Linked DNA regions of Homo sapiens: all the other regions are linked to region 3. The links are contacts of gene promoters, found by promoter capture Hi-C in blood cells and fetal thymus (Javierre and others, 2016). All regions are on one chromosome and are shown on one strand. The core of a region is centred on a gene start or on the middle of the fragment in contact, and the rest is flanking DNA. Distances in the headings are between cores, read along the strand shown. Region 1 has its middle 47 kb from the start of PTPN1. Region 2 has its middle 24 kb from the start of PTPN1. Region 3 holds the start of SNAI1 (snail family transcriptional repressor 1).

The links. The method cuts DNA at HindIII sites, captures the fragments that hold promoters and counts their contacts. A CHiCAGO score of 5 or more calls a contact.
Region 1: a contact is called between a fragment that was not itself captured here and the fragment with the promoter of SNAI1 in region 3, in 3 of 17 cell types (activated CD4 T cells, naive CD8 T cells and endothelial precursors). The highest score is 6.6, in activated CD4 T cells.
Region 2: a fragment that was not itself captured here is called in contact with the fragment with the promoter of SNAI1 in region 3 in 1 of 17 cell types (monocytes); the score reaches 6.1 in monocytes.

The regions. Positions count from the first base shown.
Region 1 is chr20:50,461,380-50,464,756 of GRCh38, forward strand. No RefSeq gene overlaps it. Among named protein-coding and RNA genes, the nearest start is that of PTPN1, 47 kb to the right of the region's middle. The HindIII fragment of the contact is 1,375 bases long and covers 1,325-2,699 here.
Region 2 is chr20:50,483,988-50,487,955 of GRCh38, forward strand. No RefSeq gene overlaps it. Among named protein-coding and RNA genes, the nearest start is that of PTPN1, 24 kb to the right of the region's middle. The HindIII fragment of the contact is 2,638 bases long and covers 146-2,783 here.
Region 3 is chr20:49,981,327-49,984,749 of GRCh38, forward strand. SNAI1 (snail family transcriptional repressor 1) reads left to right here and starts at 1,654. Exons shown (of 3, transcript NM_005985.4): 1 at 1,654-1,815; 2 at 2,498-3,025. The coding sequence starts at 1,734. RefSeq lists an enhancer at 59-996 and a silencer at 1,149-1,668. The HindIII fragment of the contact is 8,892 bases long and covers 1-3,423 here.

The sequences.
Region 1 (3,377 bases), core at 762-3,261, 480 kb after region 3:
TATTGCTGTGTTCATAGCAATTCATAGCCACTTGTGTTTGATGAATTTCCAGTGTACTCAGAGTGATTTTTTTCACTGACTATCAACAAATAATTTTGCTGCAAAGAAATACAGATATGGGAAAGGATGCACAATATATTATCAAATGACCACAGGCCTCAGAAACATTGTATACAAACACTCTATCTGTGTGTGTGTGTGTGTGTGTGTGTGTGTGTGTGTGTGTGTGTGTGTGCGCGCGCGCGCGCAGAGAGAGAGAGAGAATCTTGGTTGTTAACCAGCCTGGAGTGAACACGACTCACTGCAGCCTCCACCTCCTAAGCTCAAGCAATCCTCCCACCTCAACCTTCCAAGTAGTTGGGACTACAGGCACCTGCCATCATATTTAGTAGAGACAGGGTTTTACCATGTTGCCCAGACTGGTTTCAAACTCCTGGACTCAAGTGATCCTCCAACCTTGGCCTCCTAAAGTACTTGGATTACAGGTGTGAGCCACTGCACCCGGCCTGATATATCTATATTTTAAAAATATGTACTTTCATAACATGTATGAGAAACAAATACCTCATTTTCTTAGTATATAAAAATCCCTAGCAGATCAACAAAAAGACAATTATCCAAGAGAAAAATAGACTAACAATTTGAATGCTTTGCCACCAGAAAAGAAATATAAACAGTCTTTGAACGTATTTTTTAAATGTCCAATCTAACATATAAACAATGAATATGTAGATTAGAACTATGGTGAACACCTTTTTCCCCTATCGGCAAGGCCAAGATCAAGAAGTCCAATCATACTTGGCCTTGGCTAGGACGTGGGGAAACCAGAGCTCACGGAGGTTGCCGGTGCAAATGACGATTGGTAGGTACAACCTTAGAGAGCATTTAGACAACCAGCGTCAAAATGTTTAAACGCACCTGCCCTATGACTGGGCGATTCAGTTGCTAAGAATGTATCCATCAGAAATAGCTCTGAATACATGGAAAGACTTCTGTGAAAGGGATACTAATTGCAGCATTGTTTGTTGCAGAAAAACCCTGGAAATACCTCCGTGACTATCACCAGAAAACTTGTTAGATAAATTATTATATTCAGACAATGGAATGTGCAAAGAATGCTCTCCTAGTGCTGATCTGGAAAGATCTGCCAAGGTACATTGCTAAGTTGAAAAAAACAAAATCCCAGTGCAGAACAGGGTGTGTGGTGTGCTTCTATTTAGAGAAATGAGTACAGGAATCCACGCACATATTTGCTTATCTGTGTTCTGGATGTCTCTGTAATGATCCCCAAGAAATGATAACCAGAATGGATTCTGGGGAGGGAAGCTTGGAGTTTTAAAGCTGGGGATGGGGGTTAAGGATTAGAGGGAGAAGACCCACTGTAAATCTTTTGGTATCTTTTGAATTTTTGCATATGAATACAATCCCTTGTTAGTTTTTAAAAATGGAACTTTTTAATGCATTGATAGATGACAGAGAGAAAAATGCCTTGAAGGATATGCTCCAACGTGTCAATAGCACTTATCTCTGGGTGGCTGATGTGAATTAGAAGCGACTTTTATTTTGTTCTTTTTTTATTATTTCTCTAATCAATTATTTATTTTGAGACAAGATCTTGCTCTATCACCCAGGCTGGAGTGCAGTGATGCGATCACCACTCATTGAAACCTCTGCCTCCTGGGCTTAAGTGATCCTCCCAGCTTAGCCTCCTGAGTGGCTGGGACTATAGGCACTTGCCACCATGCCTGGCTGATTTTTTATTTTTAATTAAATTTTTTTTTGTAAAGACGAAGTCTCACTAAGTTGCCCAAGCTGGTTTTGAACTCCTGGGCTCAAACGATCCCTCTGTTTCAGCTTCCCAAAGTGCTAGGATTACAGGTGTGAGCCACTGTGCCCGGTCTGTTCTTTTTAAAAAATACAGAGACAGGGTCTCACTTTGTCACCTAGGCTAGAGTACAGTGGCATAATCATAGCACCCTGCAGCCTTGATCTTCTAGGCTCAAGTGATCCTCCAGCTTCAGCCTCCCAAGTAGCTGGGACCACAGGCATGCACCACCACTTCTGGCTATATTTTGTTCTTTTTACTTAGATTTTCTAATTTAAAAAAATAATTACCAGCCGGGTGTGGTGGCCCATGCCTGTAAATCCTAGCACTCTAGGAGGCCGAGGCAGGAGGATCATTTGAGCCCAGGAGTTTGAGACCAGCCTGGGCAACATAGTGAAACCGCGTCTTTACTAAAAATACAAAAAAAAAAAAAAATTAGCTGGGTGTGGTGGTGCTCACCTGTAGTCCCAGCTACTCAGAAGGCTGAGGCAGGAGAATCACTTGAACCTGGGAGGCAGAGGTTACAGTGAGCCCAGATCACACCACTGCACTCCAGCCTGGGCAACAGAGCGAGACTCCGTCTTAAAATAAAATAAAATAAAATAAAATAAATAATTATCAAGGTATATTCAGATAATTTTTTTAAAAATTAAGTAAGTAAACACCTCAGTGTTCTCTTGGTAGTCAGGGGAAAACTAACTTCTACATGAAAAAAAGAAAAGACCAAAAACACATACACTTCTCTAAACAGGCAGATTATTTTCATTGCCAAGGACATTACAGAGACTGAGGAGTGGGTTGGAAATATATTCTATGAAAAATCGAGAATTAATACAACTGTCCTACCATGCACTTTCTGGGCATCAAAACGCCAAGCTTCTAACTCAGACCTGAGTTCAAACTCTGACTGCCACTTACTAGCTGGGCAAGTTGCTCCTACGCCGTTGGCCTCAGTTTCCTCATCTGTAGTCTGAGACCACATTGCTGCTGGCAGGCTCGAGTGAGATCATGCCTGTGAAGTACTTGGCTCAGGCGTACTCAGAGACCCAGTTCAAACAGGGAACAGGCAGAAATTCTGCACCCCGCAAGGGTGACAGGGCGGAGGGAGGACAGGAGGGGCCGCTTTGCCGGACTGGGGATCAGTGTGCAACTAGCTGGGCCCGGAGTCCCCCACAAACCGGCCAGCTCAGAGGTTCTTCCGACAGTTTGGAGAGAGTGACACCAAGTGGCCAAGTCTGAAACTACACCTTCAAGCCGGAGGGTTAGAGCCTCTCCCCGACCCCTCCAGCTGCGGTCCTGAGCCAGGCACTGAACTTCCCTGAATCTGAGTTTTTTCAGCTGCGAAATGGAGGTAATCCTGCCTACCTGGCAGAGCGGAGGTGGGAATTAAATGAGGTAACCCGCAGAGATTCTCTCCAGGACCGCCATGTTGCACAACTTCAGGGGCCCCATTCATGAAACTGTGCAACATAGCGGCACCCCTAACAGGTGGCTGTCATTATCATCCCTCCCTCAGACACTGAGTTTCCTTCTCTACTCCCCTAGAGCGATT
Region 2 (3,968 bases), core at 215-2,714, 500 kb after region 3:
CAAAGACAGTGTTCTCTATCTCCCTCTTCCTTTTCTCCTTGTCCTCCTCTTCTCTGCTTTTCTCTCCCTCTCCCTCCTCCCCACCACCTTGTTTATTTTTTTTCCAAATAATATTTAGAGTTACCAAGACAGAAGTCAAGAGGAAAGCTTTCTGGTGTCCTTAAAGATGTGCTTTATGAAAGATAGTTTTCATTTGCTCTTTTATTCATTTGACACATTTATTAAGCACCTATGATACGCAATATATAGAAAACAAGACAGACACAATCCTTGCCCCTTAGGCTTTATACTCTAGCAGGAAAAGGAGGCATTAAACAGCTAAATACACATGGCGAGGAGGGGGTAAGGGAAGCCTAGATGGGGAAGTGGGGGAGTGAGATGGGAACAGGAAGGCAGCCATAAAAAGCAATTAGTTGATTACGTTGTGATACAGGTTTCTCAACCTCCGCATTAGTGAAATTTTGACTGGATCATTCCTGTAGGCTGTTCTGGGCATTGTAGGATATTTAGCAGCGTCTCTGGCCTCTACCCACTAGATGCCAGTAGCATTCTTACCCTGGTTTTGACAACCAAAAATGTTTCCAGACATTGTCAAATGGCCCCTGGGGGGCAAAATCACTCCCAGTTGAGAACCACTGTGGTAAATAAGAAAGGCAGATACGAAAACATGTAACAAGGAAACAGAATCTAGGCATACCCACAAGGAAGTGCCTTTAGGACGAGATCCATGTGACAATAGGCATTAGCCAGGCAGAAAGCAGGAATGGCATCCTAAGTAGAGTAGACAGCATGTGCAAAGGCCCTGTAGCCAGACCTGAAAGGATACTGGAGAACAGAGAGTGGCCTGGTGAAATGGGCAGGGCTCAGTTCACACAGGGCCTTAGAGTCTGAGTTATAAATTTTAGCCTTTATCCATGGTCACTTTTCCTTTTTTTTTTTTTTTTTTTTGACACAGTTTCAGTCTTGTTGCCCAGGCTAGAGTGCAATTGTGCAATCTCAGCTCACTGCAACCTCCGCCTCCCAGGTTCAAGCAATTCTCCTGCCTCAGCCTCCCGAGTAGGGATGTGCCACCATGCCTGGCTAATTTTGTATTTTTAGTAGAGACGGGGGTTTCTCCATGTTGGCCAGGCTAGTTTCAAACTCCTGACCTCAGGTGATCTGCCCACCTCGGCCTCCCAAAGTGCTGGGATTACAGGCGTGAGCCACCATGCCCAGCCACTTTTACTTTTAAAATTCATTTCAGCATGGTTAAAATAATAAAAATAAACTAAATGACAACAGACAACATCAAGTGCTGACTAAGATGCAGAGCAACTGGAACTCCCATACACTGGTGGAAATGCACAACGGTAGAGCTTCTTTGGTTGTTTTTTTTTTTCTTTCTTTCTTTCTTTCCTTCCTTCCTTCCTTCCTTCCTTTCCTCTTTCTTTCTTTCTCTCTCTCTTTCTTTCTTTCTTTCTTTCTTTCTTTCTTTCTTTCTTTCTTTCTTTCTTTTTTTGAGACAGAGTCTTGCTCTGTTGCCCAGGTTGAGGTGCAGTGACACAATCTCGGCTCACTGGAACCTCCACCTCCTGGGTACAAGGGATTCTCGTGCCTCAGCCTCCTACAGTACAGCTTCTTTGGAAACAGTTTGGCAGGTTTGTTTGTTTGTTTGTAAAGTTAAACCTACGGTTATCATACAACTCACCAATCCTGGCCAGGCATAGTGGCTTATGCCTATAATCCCAGCACTTTGGGAGGCCAAGATGGGAGGATTGCTTGAGGTCAGGAGTTTGAGACCAGCCTGGTCAACACAGTAAGACCCCGTTTCTATAAAAATAAATAAATAAATAAATAAATAAATAAAGTAAAAATCCCACTTTTAGAAATATACCCAAATGAAATAAAAACTGTTTATTTAATAAAAACACAAAAACCTGTACAAGAACGTTTATAGTGGCTTTATTCATAAAGGCCAAAATATGGGAAACCATCTAAATGCCCCTCTACTGAGGAAAGATTGAACAAACGGCAGTACATCTGTACAATGGAATACTACTCACGAGTAACAAGATGAGAACTCTTTTTTTTTTTGAGATGGAGTTTCGTTCTTATCACCCAGGCTGGAGTGCAGCAGCATGATCTTGGCTCACTGCAACCTCCACCTCCCGTTTGCAAGCAATTCTCCTGCCTCAGCCTCCCGAATAGCTGGGATTACAGGTGCCCGCCACCACGCCCAGCTAATTTTTCTATTTTTAGTAGAGACAGGGTTTCACCATGTTGACCAGGGTGGTTTTGAGCTCCTGACCTCGGGTGATCCACCTGCCTTGGCCTCCAAAGTGTGGGGATGAGAGGCATGAGCCATCGCGCCCAGGTGAGAACTCTTAATACACACGATGATGTAGATGAACCTCCAAAGCATCATGCTGAATTATAGAAGCCAGACTCAGAGGGTACATGTTATATGATTCCATTTATATAGTCTTTTGAAAAAGGGACAACTATAGGAACAGAAAACAGTTAAGTGGTTGCCAAAGGCTGGGAGTGGGCACAAGGGTAGACTACAAAGGGTCCCCAGGAAATTGGGAAGACAATTAATAGAATGGTTCTAAACCTTGACTGTGGTGGTGGTTAGATGACTGTGCATTTGTCAAAAAATACAGAACCCAGTCAGCCAGGTGCGGTGGCTTATACCTGTAATCCCAGCACTTTGGGAGGCTGAACTGGGCAAATCGCTTGAGCCGAGACCAGCCTAGGCAACATAATGAGGCCCCATCTCTACAAAAAATAGAAAAAATTAGTTAAGCTTGGTGGCGCCTGCCTGTAGTGCAGTCCCAGTTACTTGGGACGCTGAGGTGGGAGGATCGCTTGAGCCTAGGTGGTTGAGGCTGCAGTGAACCAAGACTGCACCACTGCACTCCAGCCTGGGCAACAAAGCGAGACCCTGTCTCAAAAAAAAAGAAAAAAGAAAAAAAATCACAGAACTGTATACTAGATAGGATAGATTTTACTGCAGGTAAATAATGCCTTTATTTTTTGAAAGTAAAAAGTTATTATAATGAAGACTCTACAGTAGGTCTATCAGTTGCACATTTGGGGGGAAATCAAGCTGGGTTCTGGTTCAAGGAAAAAATTAAGAAAGGTAAGAAGAAAAAGAAAATAAATTTTAAAATCTAAAAAGAAAAAGAAAATAGTCCGCGTGTGGTGACTCAGGCCTGTAATCTCAGCACTTTGGGAGGCTGAGGCAGGCGGATCACCTGAGGTCAGGAGTTCGAGACCAGCCTGGCCAACATGGTGAAACCCTGTCTCTACTAAAAGTACAAAAATTAGCCGGGTGTGGTGGCCGGCGCCTGTAATCCCAGCTACTCGAGAGGCTTAGGCAGGAGAATTGCTTGAACTCAGGAGGCAGAGGTTGTAGTGAGCCGAGATTACACCACTGCACTCCAGCCTGGGTGACAGGGCAAGACTCTGTTTCAAAAAAAAAAAAAAAAAGATAAAGAAAAAGAAAATAAATCAAGCTTGGTAAGAACTATGAGGTAAATCTTGACTCCCGGGGGGACTCGGGTAACAGGAAGCTAGATGGTGGTCATGCTCACCATTTGAACCACATGTACCTATGAGCAAACGAAAGAAAGATAAGGCAATGCAGACATTTGGTGCTGGTTGACAGGAATGACTGTTTTCCAGCACATACAAAAAAGATTGTTCCAAACAGGTAAATGCAAAAGCACTCTGGGGAAACAGTGCTGGGTTCCACACTTATCTTCGTGAGCTCAGCTCATGGATAGACCAACCTGCAGGAGGAGGAGAAACCTCAACTGAGCAGAAAATAATCCTCAGACTCTTGGCCATCTTCAGAGTAGACATGTGTTTAATCTTGACTCCATTTCAGGAGCTTTGCAGATTTTCTATAAATGTATCATGAAAATTCAATCTCAAAAACAGGAGGTTGACATAACAGTGAAAATTCAGTAGATCTTCAAAGCTAC
Region 3 (3,423 bases), core at 404-2,903:
TGAGGAGAGGACTTTGGCTTTTACTCTGAGACAGGCGCATGGGAGGGTTTGAGCAGAGGAGGGGGTGATCTGGCCTCACTTTGGCTTCAAGCAAAGGATCCTGATTGGAGCTAAATTGACACGGGACGGGGAGTATTCCGCTTAATGACTGCTTACTGCCTCTGTCCCCCACCCTACTGCCCGCTCTCCAGCTAGAACCAGGGGAGGACGATTTTGTTCACGGCTGTCACACCCGGCACCAAGTGACTAAACAGACAGTAGTTCTGCCCTTCAGGTTGGTGGTGGTGGTGGTGTGGGGTGCTTATAGGTTTTTATAGTCTTCCTTCACAGGTGGAAACAAGAACGGTGAGACCTGTGAGGTTTATTTCAGAGCCACCCCCGGGCCTGGTACGCCTCCCAGGGAAGCTGGGGTGGGGGTGCAGCTGCCCCTCACTTGGGCCCACCCCACATGCATTCAGTCAGGGCCCCTATGGAGCCGTGTTACAGCCTTTAGACACAGGATCGAGGATCTTCACGGGGTGAGGAGACACGCCCGGCCCATGCCTTCTTTCTCCCGCCAGCCTACAGGGATCTTTTTCAACGAAACTCTAACCAGGTCCCTCCTCAGCTGAAAATCCTTCGGTGGCTCCCCAGTGCCCTTGAGGCAAAGTCCAAACTCCTACGAGGCCCTGGGGCCCAGCACATCTGACCCCTCCGGGCATGCCCATCCCACCCCATCCCTGGAAGCTGCTCTCTAGGAGTTACTCTGAAGCAGTTGCCACTTCTTCCCTCGGGCCTTTTCCCTTGATAATTCTTCACTTCCTCTGGGAAGTCACCCCGACCCCCTGTCAGGTGACCCGCCTCTTAACGGTCGCCGCGTCCCGTCTCTCCCCCACCAAAGCACACTTCCCTTTGCATTGTAATTATCTGTTTACTTCGTCTGTCTCCCTCACTGGACCAGAAGCTACCCTTCGGGAGAGGCTCTGAGTGTTCTGTCCGGGGCTGTGCCCTGGCCCCAGGTACAGTGCCCCACACGTGCTGGGCGCTCCGTAAACACTGGATAAGGGAAGGAACGGGTGCTCTTGGCTAGCTGGGCCAGGCTGCTTTGCAAAAAGGCCGTGGCATTTCAAGCCGCCGAGAGCCACGTGCGGTGTCCCTTTCCTCGCTTCCTCCCCAGTGATGTGCGTTTCCCTCGTCAATGCCACGCTCTCCAGGCGCCAGCCGGGCGGAGGAAATTTCCGCCCCCTCCCAAGCCCGAGGCGGGGGCGGGCGTCGGAAGGTCAGGTGTCCCGGCCGGCGCGCAGCGCCAGGGGGCGTCAGAAGCGCTCAGACCACCGGGCGCTGAGCCGGTGGGCGCGCGGCGTCCTGCCGGGGTCCCACCTCGCAGAGGCCTCGCTTCGCTCGACGTCCCGCCCCGGACAGCCCCAGCACCGGGGACGACCCGCGCTGCGCCAGCGAACCCCGCCTCGGAGGAGTCCCCGCCCGGGCTCTCACCGCCACGCGGCGCGAGCCCGGCCAGCAGCCGGCGCACCTGCTCGGGGAGTGGCCTTCGGCGGAGACGAGCCTCCGATTGGCGCGGAGGTGACAAAGGGGCGTGGCAGATAAGGCCCCGCCCCTCCCACCCCCCACCACCCCCCCGGAGTACTTAAGGGAGTTGGCGGCGCTGCTGCATTCATTGCGCCGCGGCACGGCCTAGCGAGTGGTTCTTCTGCGCTACTGCTGCGCGAATCGGCGACCCCAGTGCCTCGACCACTATGCCGCGCTCTTTCCTCGTCAGGAAGCCCTCCGACCCCAATCGGAAGCCTAACTACAGCGAGCTGCAGGACTCTAATCCAGGTGCGTTGGAGGGGTTCTGGGCTCCAGGAGGTTTGGGGGAGACAGGCGAAGGCTGCGTGGGGGGCACCTGAGGGAGGCGGCCTGCCTGAGCCAGGATCGAGTCACAGGATGTTTTGTGGACCATTGCGGGCTCGGGAGACCGGGCAAGTGGGTCCCCAGTTCCGGGGATCTGTCTGGGTGGTTGGGGGAGTGCCGTGTAGAGGGCAGGGGTCTTCAGCTTGGGGGGCCTTTGTAGCCGGCGAGAGGCGGAGGAGCTCCGCAAGAGGGGAAGGAGAGGAGGCCTGTGTCAGGAGGGCCCTCTGGACGCTGCTGGGGAGAGTCCGGAGTCCAGAGGGTTGAGGGGAGGGGTGGGGAGACGAGATGTGTGTGAGGAGGGGGATTGGGGCAGGGTGGTGGCTCCGGGGCTGGGATGATGGGGTTCTGGCCTCAGGCTGGAGACTGGGGACTTAGGAGAGGGAGATCAGGAAATGACCTCCTTCAACTGGGGGTCCTACGTGTGAGAGACTCAGATTGGGTGACCTGGGCGAGGAGGGCAGGAACCTGGTCTGTCCTGTGGATAATTTTTTTGATCTAATTATGTATTGAGAATCGGCCCCACCCAGCCCCTGGCCAGCGGTGGGCTCATGTTTGTTGATTGAGTGAATGATTTAATTAACGCCTGACTCTGCTTTTTCTCCCTCAGAGTTTACCTTCCAGCAGCCCTACGACCAGGCCCACCTGCTGGCAGCCATCCCACCTCCGGAGATCCTCAACCCCACCGCCTCGCTGCCAATGCTCATCTGGGACTCTGTCCTGGCGCCCCAAGCCCAGCCAATTGCCTGGGCCTCCCTTCGGCTCCAGGAGAGTCCCAGGGTGGCAGAGCTGACCTCCCTGTCAGATGAGGACAGTGGGAAAGGCTCCCAGCCCCCCAGCCCACCCTCACCGGCTCCTTCGTCCTTCTCCTCTACTTCAGTCTCTTCCTTGGAGGCCGAGGCCTATGCTGCCTTCCCAGGCTTGGGCCAAGTGCCCAAGCAGCTGGCCCAGCTCTCTGAGGCCAAGGATCTCCAGGCTCGAAAGGCCTTCAACTGCAAATACTGCAACAAGGAATACCTCAGCCTGGGTGCCCTCAAGATGCACATCCGAAGCCACACGCTGCCCTGCGTCTGCGGAACCTGCGGGAAGGCCTTCTCTAGGCCCTGGCTGCTACAAGGCCATGTCCGGACCCACACTGGTACGTGCCCCTCCAGGCGCCCCCACCGTTGCTCTCTCTGGCAGCTTTTGTGAATCTGGGCTTGCTGTTCTCATTCCCAAAGCTGTGGACACTGAGGCCCCGAGTCTTCTAACTTCTAGCTCAAGTTCCAGGGCCTGGCTCTCTGGAAACGTTTGGCAGAAACTTTCTTCATCAGCTAAGCAGATGGGCAAAGCAGACACCTTCCCAATCCCCTGCAGCCTGTTTCTCAGCCAAATGGGTCGGAGCTGGATATGGGAAAGGTGCAACCAACACCTTGCTGTGGGGGCCAGGTGTGAAGGGGCCCACCCGGCCACACCCTCTCCCGGGTCCGCCCCCTCCCTAGCCAGACAGGATGTTGTCAGACCCCCCGCCTGGCTCTGAATCCTTCTTTGAGAACT